Linked DNA regions of Homo sapiens: region 2 is linked to region 1. Evidence: promoter capture Hi-C in human tissues and cell types (Jung and others, 2019). All regions are on one chromosome and are shown on one strand. The core of a region is centred on a gene start or on the middle of the fragment in contact, and the rest is flanking DNA. Distances in the headings are between cores, read along the strand shown.

The links. The method cuts DNA at HindIII sites, captures the fragments that hold promoters and counts their contacts. A contact is called where the count stands out against the background at its distance.
Region 2: a contact is called between a fragment that was not itself captured here and the fragment with the promoter of ECHS1 in region 1, in 2 of the 25 tissues and cell types used here (H1 embryonic stem cells and IMR-90 fibroblasts).

Annotation. Positions count from the first base shown.
Region 1 is chr10:133,371,205-133,374,603 of GRCh38, forward strand. It overlaps ECHS1 (enoyl-CoA hydratase, short chain 1), which reads right to left and starts at 2,150. Exons shown (of 8, transcript NM_004092.4): 1 at 2,042-2,150. The coding sequence starts at 2,129. MIR3944 (microRNA 3944) reads right to left here and starts at 459; the gene lies at 352-459. RefSeq lists a silencer at 1,913-2,422 and an enhancer at 2,804-2,893. The HindIII fragment of the contact is 22,751 bases long and covers 1-3,399 here.
Region 2 is chr10:133,506,889-133,511,971 of GRCh38, forward strand. LOC105378575 (a long non-coding RNA gene) reads right to left here. Exons shown (of 5, transcript XR_946512.3): 4 at 2,325-2,401. Among named protein-coding and RNA genes, the nearest start is that of CYP2E1, 18 kb to the right of the region's middle. The HindIII fragment of the contact is 3,032 bases long and covers 516-3,547 here.

The DNA.
Region 1 (3,399 bases), core at 900-3,399:
AGGTGGAGCTTGCAGTGAGCTGAGATCATGCCACTGCACTCCAGCCTGGGTGACAGAGTGAGACTCCGTCTCAAAAAAAAAGAAAAGAAAAAAAGAAAAATCCCCAGCACAGAACACAGCCCACAGCCGCTTTCCTTCTCCTAATATGCCTTGGTCAGCTCTTCCCAGGACACCACTCTGGAGACAGCCCTGGACTCTGCTGAGACAAGGCACCAGGAAACACCTTCTTTCAACAAATGCCAACAGGTGAGGGGGTGTAAGGCAGCTCCTTGCACTTGGTACCGCCCCAGTGCCAAGACCTCTGGCCAACTGGACGCAGGGTGGGGGATGTGAAAATCCTGGGTGTTCCTGCAGCATTAAGATCAGGCACAGGTCCGGAGCAGCAGGCCAGCCCGAAAATGGGAGACGCAGGCGCTTCTCGGTTGGCCTGCTGCACAGGACCTGCGCCTGCTGGGTGGACAGCAAGGTGGGAAGGAGACAAAGGACAATGGCGTTCCAGGGGTGAGAAGGTGAACCTGAAAAGACAAAGGTAGCCTGTGTGTTGGATGCTTGCCTCCGTTAGTGGCAGAGCAGGGATCATAGTCCCTGTGCTATGGGTTTCTTTTTTTTGGAGACCGAGTCTCACTCTATTGCCCAGGCTGGAGTGCAGTGGCGCAATCTTGGCTCACTGCGACCTCTGCCTACAGGGTTCAGGTGATTCTCCTGCCTCAGCCTCCCGAGTAGCTGGGACTACGGTCACACACCACCACACCTGGCTAATTTTTGTATTTTTAGTAGACATGGGGTTTCACCATGTTGGCCAAGGTGGTCTTGATGACCTCAGGTGATCCACCTGCCTCAGCCTCCCAAAGTGCTGGGATTATAGGCATTAGCCACTGTGCCCCGCCGTATCCTGTGGGTTTCTAGGGGTAACTGGAAGATCACAGGTGAAGTGTCTGGCAGCAGTGCCCGCCATGCAAGATCCAGGAAAGGGCTGCTGTCAGGGTGGAGAAGCCGAAGGCCAAGGAGAGCATGGAGATGAAACCAACACAACTCAGTGGTCCACTGCTACACAGGGTGAGGGAGGAAGAGGAAGCAAGAGTTCTTCCCCAGCCCAAGGCATGGCCCAAGATTCCTCAGATACTAGAGCCGGTGATGGCCGCTCATGAGTGGGGCCCCGGGTGAGCCACGAGGGAGGAAGAGGGCAGCCCCCTGTGGCTGGGGAGGAGGTGTCAGCTTTTCCCTTAGGACCCTCTGAGGGGTGGCCCTGGTCAGGAGGCACCCAGGACAAAATGCACCTGCATCTCCTGTTCTCGGGCTGGCCGGCTGCACAGGAGCTACGCCTGCTCTTAGAGCCGAGGGAACACCCCGGATTTTTACAACCCCCACCCTGCGCCCAGTTGGCCAGAGGTCTTGGCACTGGGGCAGTACCAGCCAGCCGCCGGGCCTCCCGCAGGACGTGGCCTGGTGAGAGTGGCCTCCTGCAGAGCCAGGCAGGGGGTGGGGGTGCGGGCCAGGGTCAGGTGGGTGGTGTCGGTGCGGGGTGGCGGGTGGTGGGGGGGTGTTAAGCCTGGGTCAGGCTGTGGGTGCGGGTCAGGTGGGGGGTGCAGCACTAGGCGAGGGGGGTGTTGCAGGCCTGAGCCAGGCAGGGGCTGCGGGTCGGGGTCAGGTGGTAGGTGCGGGGTCAGGCAGGAGAGTGCGGAGTCAGGCCCTGGGGATGCGGGATCGGACGGAAGAGGGGTGCGGGGTCAGGCCGGGGGGTGCGGGGTCAGGTGGGGGGGTGCGGGGTCAGGCGGAGTGGGGTGCGGGTAGGGGTCAGGCCGGAGGGTGCGGGGTCAGGTGGGGGGGTGCGGGGTCAGGCGGGGGGGTGCGGGGTCAGGCGGAGTGGGGTGCGGGTAGGGGTCAGGTGAGGGTGCGGGGTCAGGCGGAAGAGGGGTGTGGGTTGGGGTCAGGTGGGGGATGCGGGGTCAGGTGGGAGGGGGGTGCGGTCTGGGATCTGGTCTGGGCGTGCAGGTCGGAGTCAGGAGGAGATTCGGGCCGCCAGCTCTCACCGCGCACTCACCCGAGGCGAAGGGACGCCAGGCGGGACAGCGAACCGGGGGCCTCAGCGGGCCGCGGACGCAGGACAGCAGGACACGCAGGGCGGCCATGGCTCTCTGGACTCCTCGCCCGGCCCCGCGGAGCCGCCCCCTCGCCTATAGCCTTTCAGGGCTCGCTCCGCCCACAGGCCAGCGCCGCGAGACCAGGCGGCCCTCGCGAGATCAGCCCGGGCAGAGTGAGCGGGTCGCTCTCCGCCAGGCCCCGCCCCCAGGCCCGAGCTGCCGCTCGCGGATCTAAGGCCGAGGGGCGTCCCCGGGACCCCGCCCTGGGCTGGGACCAGCGCCCTCCAGGCCCCGCCGCAGTCGCCCGCGCCCCCGCCCCCGCCCCAGCCCTCGGGGTCCCAGCTGGCCCCGGGGAGACCGCGCGGAGGCGGAGGCAACGGCGGCGCCTGCCGGGCTCTGCGCCGCCTCCCCCCGCCCGCCTGCCCGCCTGCCCGCCTGCCCGCCTGCCCGCCTGCCCGCCTGCCCGCCTGCCCGCCGGCGTCTGTAGCAGCGGACACAGCGCGCCCAGGCGCAGGGCCAGGCACGGTGGCAGCGGCGTGGGCACTGAACGCCACATTAGGAGGAGTTTTATTTTCATGCACACAAGACTTCAACAGATTTAAATAATAAAAATTTCATTCATTTAAGTTATTTTATTTATACCTTTTAAATATCTAGACAAGTATTGTGGAGCATCCATTTGTGTACTTGCCCGGATTCTGCAAACGCCAGGGTGGAGATAAAACCACCCTGGATAAAATGGAATGGAAAGCGAAACTGCTATTGTGACCGGTGGAGGGTGTCCAGGTTCTTGACGTCTTGAACAAAGAACTGGACAAAACGCACAAACAAAGCACGGAAAGAAGGAAGCAACAAAAGCGAGATTTATGGAAAACAAAAGTGTGGCCGGGCGCGGTGGCTCAGGCCTGTAATCCCAGCACTTTGGGAGGCCAAGGCGGGCAGATCACCTGACGTCAGGAGTTTGAGACCAGCCTGGGCAACATGGTGAAACCCCCCTCTCTACTAAAAACACAAAAATTAGCCGGGCGTGGTGGTGCACGCCTGTGGTCTTAGCTACTCGGGAGGCTGACGCAGGAGAATTGCTTGAATCCGGGAGGCGGAGGTTGCAGTGAGCCGAGATCGCACCACTGCCCTCCAGCCTGGGCGATAGAGCCAGACTTCGTCTCAAAAAAGAAACAAGAAAAGACAACGAAAATAACTCCACACTGTGGGAGCGGCTGAGCATAGCGGCTCAAGAGCCCCGTTACAGATTTTTTGGGGGGGTTAAATACCCTCTAGAGGTTTCCATTGGTTACTTGGTGTACGCCCTGTGTAAATG
Region 2 (5,083 bases), core at 782-3,281, 140 kb after region 1:
GAAAATTCCAGAAATAGACAGTTTGTAAGTTTTAAATAACTGTTATCACCATATGTTGTTATAATTGTTCTATTTTATAATTAGTTATTATGTTTCCTTCATTATTGTGCCTAATTTATAAATGAAACTTCATCATAGGTATGTATAGGAAACAAAGCACAGTATATATAGGGTTTGGTGCCATACACAGCTGCAGGAATCTGCAGAATGTCTTGGACTGTATCACCCACGGATAAGGGGGACTAGTGTATAGCCCTCCGGGAGGCTAAGCAGTAGCTCAGCACATCTTAAGCCTTCTCCTCTCCTGTGGTTCACCTGTGATATATCCAGATCTACCCATTCTTTCTGGAAGAGGTTTGTCCACACACTGACTGCCCCAACTTTTACAGCTCCCACCCAAAAGACTGCATCCTAAACTGTCTAACTCTGGGAATGAAAGCGTCTTGGCATTTGCTAGTCTCCCTAGATTACGGTACAAAGAGGTAGTTTTAAATGGGCAGGCAAGGTTGGGCGCGGTGGCTCACGCCTGCAATCCCAACACTTTGGGAGGCCAAGGTAGGTGGATCACCTGAGGTCAGGAATTCGAGAACAGCTTTGCCAACATGGTGAAACCCTGTCTCTACTAAATATACAAAAATTAGCCGGGTGTGGTGGCGGATGCCTGTAATCCCAGCTACTCGGGAGGCTGAGGCAAGAGAATCATTTGAACCCAGGAGGCGGAGGTTGCAGTGAGCCGAGATTGCACCACTGCACTCCAGCCTAGGCGGCAGAGTGAGACTCCGTCTCAAAAAAAAAAAAAAAAAAAAAAAGAAAGAAAAAAAATGGGCATGCAAGCACTTATAGGAGTTACACCCGCAAGGACCAATGCAGACAAGAGGTTAAATACACGCCTTCCAGTTTCTCCCTGGAAGGGGTTAGTCTGCACAATTTTCCAGTTACTGCTTAAGGATCAGGCTCCTATCTAGCCTGCATCTGGGAGCCAACAGGGCCGACAAACGATAGACCTCCAGGATTCTGAATGAGAGTTCAGGCACTTCCCAAGCCTTTCCCTCCACCTCACCCCAGTGATAAAACCAGCTCTGTAGATTCCTTTTAGAAGTAGTTTGTGCACCAAGTGCCACAACTTCTACAGCTCCCACCCGGAGGAGTGCCTCCTTAACCACCTAACTTTGGGAATTGGTGGGTCTCTGCATTTCTGAGTCTCCGTGGACGACAGAAAATAAAGAAGTGTACATTCAACAATCCAACTTCTAGTGACTATCAGAGGGTGCATTCTGCATGAAAATGCAGACACTTGTCACAGATCCTTCTTCTGACATAGTGCATAGAGAGTGGGAGATAAACTCTTGCTCTTAGCTTCACCCTGAGCAAAGAAGAAACTGGAACATATATTTAACACTCCAATCTTTCCAACTGCATCTAGTTTCTATCTTACCTATCTCAAGGCACTGACAGGACTTGGCACATTGTAAAATTCTACGGTGGGCAGTCGGGGGGCACTAAAATCAGAGACAGTGGTTTGGACAAACCAGGATTTAAGAGGCACCTCAGAATCTCTGGACCAATTGGTGAGGGCCTTCTCCTACACTGACAGAACTGGGAGTCTCACAGTCTGACAGAACTGGGAGAGGCTGCTGTCTTATGTAATGCACGGACACTAATACAGAGAAACAAAGGAAATAGAAAAACAGGGAAATGGGTTCCAAATAAAAGATCAAGATAAATCTGCAGAAACCAACCCTAGTGAAGTGGAGATGTATGATCTACCCAATGAGGAATTCAAAATAATGGTCATAAAGATGTTCACTAAGGTCAGGAGAAAAATGCATAAACAAATAATTTCAAAAAAGAGATAGAAAGTATTTCAAAAGCGGCCAATAGAAATTATAAAACTGAAGAATATAATAACTGAACTGAAAAATTCAGTAGAGGTGTTCAACAGCAGACCAGATTAAGTGAAAGAGAGAACCAGTGAGATTAAAGACATGTCATTGGAAATAATCCAATCCTAGAAGTAAAAAGAATGAAAAAGATAGCTTACAGGACTTCAACAAGCAGAACAATATATTCAGAATTGGTAGACCAGGAGGAAGAGAGGGAGAAAGGGACACAAAACATATTCAAAGAAATGATGGGGAAAAACCTCCCAAGCTTAGGGAAATAAATTGAAATCAAGATTCAGGAAACTCAGATGACACCAAATAGGAAAAATCCAGAGACACACATTTGAGACATATTATAATCAAATTGTTAAAAATTTAGACAAAGAGAGAATTTTGAAAGCAACAAGGGACAGCAAATAGTTACACAAAAGGGATGCCCACCGTGTAAGATATCCATGGATTTTCTTTTTCCAGAAACTTTATAGGCCAGGAAGGAGCTGGATGATATATTCAAAATCCTAAAAGAAAAAAAAATTACTGCCCAAGAATACCATACCTAGTAATACTATCTTTCAAAAATGAAGGCAAGAATAAGACTTTCTCAAACAAACAAAAGTCGAGGAAGGATATCACCATTAGATGTGCCTTACAAGAAATTCTAGGAATTCTTCAAGCTGGATTAAAAGGATACTAATTGATAGGATAAAAATACAAAAATAAAAAACTTACTGGTAAAAGTAAGTACATTGTCAGATTCAAACTAGTAATCAGGCAATGGTCTTCTGTAAAACAATTCTATCTCTAGTACAAAGGTTAAAAGATAAAGCAATTAAAAACAACCATAGCTACAATAATCTGTTGAGAGATACAAATGATGAAATGATATAAATTGTGACATCAAAAGCATAAAATATGAGGTGGGGGAGTAGAAATGTAGAGTTTATTTATGCAATCAAAATTAAGCTTTTATCAGCTTAAAAATAGCTGGTTATAAACATAAGATGTTTTCTGCAAGCCTCAAGTAACCACAAAGCAAAAATCTGTAGTAGATACACAAAAGATAAGAAGAAAATAGTCAAAGCATATCACTATAGACAAGCGTCAAACCATCTAAGATCAAGAACAAGACAAGGATGCCCACTCTCACCACTTCCATTCAACGTAGTACTACTGTCAGTCTTAGCTAGAGTAATTAGGCAAGAGCAAGAAATAAAAGGCATCCAGATTGGAAAGGAGGAAATAATACGGTTCCTGTTTGCAGATGACATGATATTACGTACAGAAAACCATAAAGACTACATCAAAACTACTAGAACTGATAAATAATTGCATTGAGGGAATTGTTTTGTACCCGTTTATGGTGGGAGTTACATAAAATATAATATATACTACAATAAATATAATAAATATACTCTATATTATAAATATAATATATATAATACATATAATAGCATTATATTTCATAGATCTGTACACCAAAGGAAAAGAAGTCTATTTTACATATGATGATTTTGAAAAATAAAAGAACGGAAAGTAGTATGGAGACTTCTGTTTAATGATAGTAGATGCGTGTCATTTTTATTATACTCTCCTCTTTTGAAACTAGCCAAGAATAACAATGGAACAAAAAAGAAAATTCCAAAATTAGTGCAGCAGGGAAATTGCCATGAGCACCATCACATCCTGAATCTTAGCTTTGAACAACTTGTCTGCAACAAATGAAGAGAATGCAGAGACCCCAGATATGCCTTTCGAGGCCTTTGGTAGGTCACATATTTCTCCAAATTCATGTCAGACCCAACAGTGCATGATTAAAACAGTGAGCAACCAATGCAAGGAGGTGTCTGAGAAGGTGCTCCTGCCACGGTCATGAGGACACATGTGTCAGCTCCTCAACTGTTCCAAAAAGCATGAGAGATGTGAAGCAGAGCCACACAAGACCTTCAGGAAGGCAGGACCACTCCACCCACCCCACCTGCAACAGGCCACTCATCCCAGCCTAGTCTGGATTAGGAGAGAGTTCTGGGAGTTTCCTTGCACAGAAATAACTGATACCATGTTTATGAATTAGAGCAGTCATTGTTGCAACATATCCGTTCTCCACAAATTGATCTATAGATTGAGTGCGATTCCAGACATTTCAGTAGTTTTTGGTAGAAATGGACAAGATGACTTTAAAATGTAGGTAGAAATGCAAAGGGCCAAGAATATCCCCTAGGAGAGGAACAAAGTTGGAAGAGTTACACTATCAGATATCAAGAGTAATTTTTAAAATGTTCTAAATAAGACAGTGTGGGATTGGTGCAAGGAGGGACAAATAAACCAATGGAGCCACACAAAGTGCAGACTCACACATGCATAGAAGCTTGACTTATGACTTGTGCTTACCTTACGTTACAGCAATTTCACTTTTAGATATATAAACAACAGAGGTAAGCAACGCAGGTGCATTAAAAGGCAGGCACTGAAATTTCATGACAGCATTATTTGCATAGTGAAAAAGTAGAAAAAACAGTATTGTTTGGGGTATAATTGATGCATCATGCTATACTCACAGAGTGGAATAATATATAGCAGTGAAAAAGAATGAACTACTTCTACAAATAACACAAACATGAAGTTAAGTTCACAAACATGAGTGAATCACACAAACATGAAGCTAAGTAAAAGAATTAAGACACAAAGAATGCATACTGTGTGATTCAGCGAATGTTACATAAAGTCTAAAAGTGGCCAGGACTATTCTGTGGTATTAAAAGGTAGGATAAACTCCCCTAGGACTAGGGGAGGAGTTGGTGACAGCCAGTGATGTTTTTCCGAGGGCGGGTGATGTTTCTACTCTGAAAGCCCTTCGGCATGGCCACACTCATGTTGTGATAACCCATCAGGCTATACACTTAGCATACTTTTCCTTATGTATTTGATAGTATTGAGATTACAACAGCTGCAGTATTTATAGATAAATGCACTAAACAGGACACAGAGAGGTAGTAGACAATTATAAAAGGCATAATTTATGAAGAAGATGTAACAGCCACAAATCTCTATTTACCAAAAACATGGAACTAAATATTTGAACTGAGATCTACTAGAAATAAAAAAAGAACTAGACCATAGTTCTATGACAGTGGCAACCTTCAAAACACAGTTTCAGAATTGGACAAATTTAGTACAAGAAGCAAATATGGAAAAAACTGAAT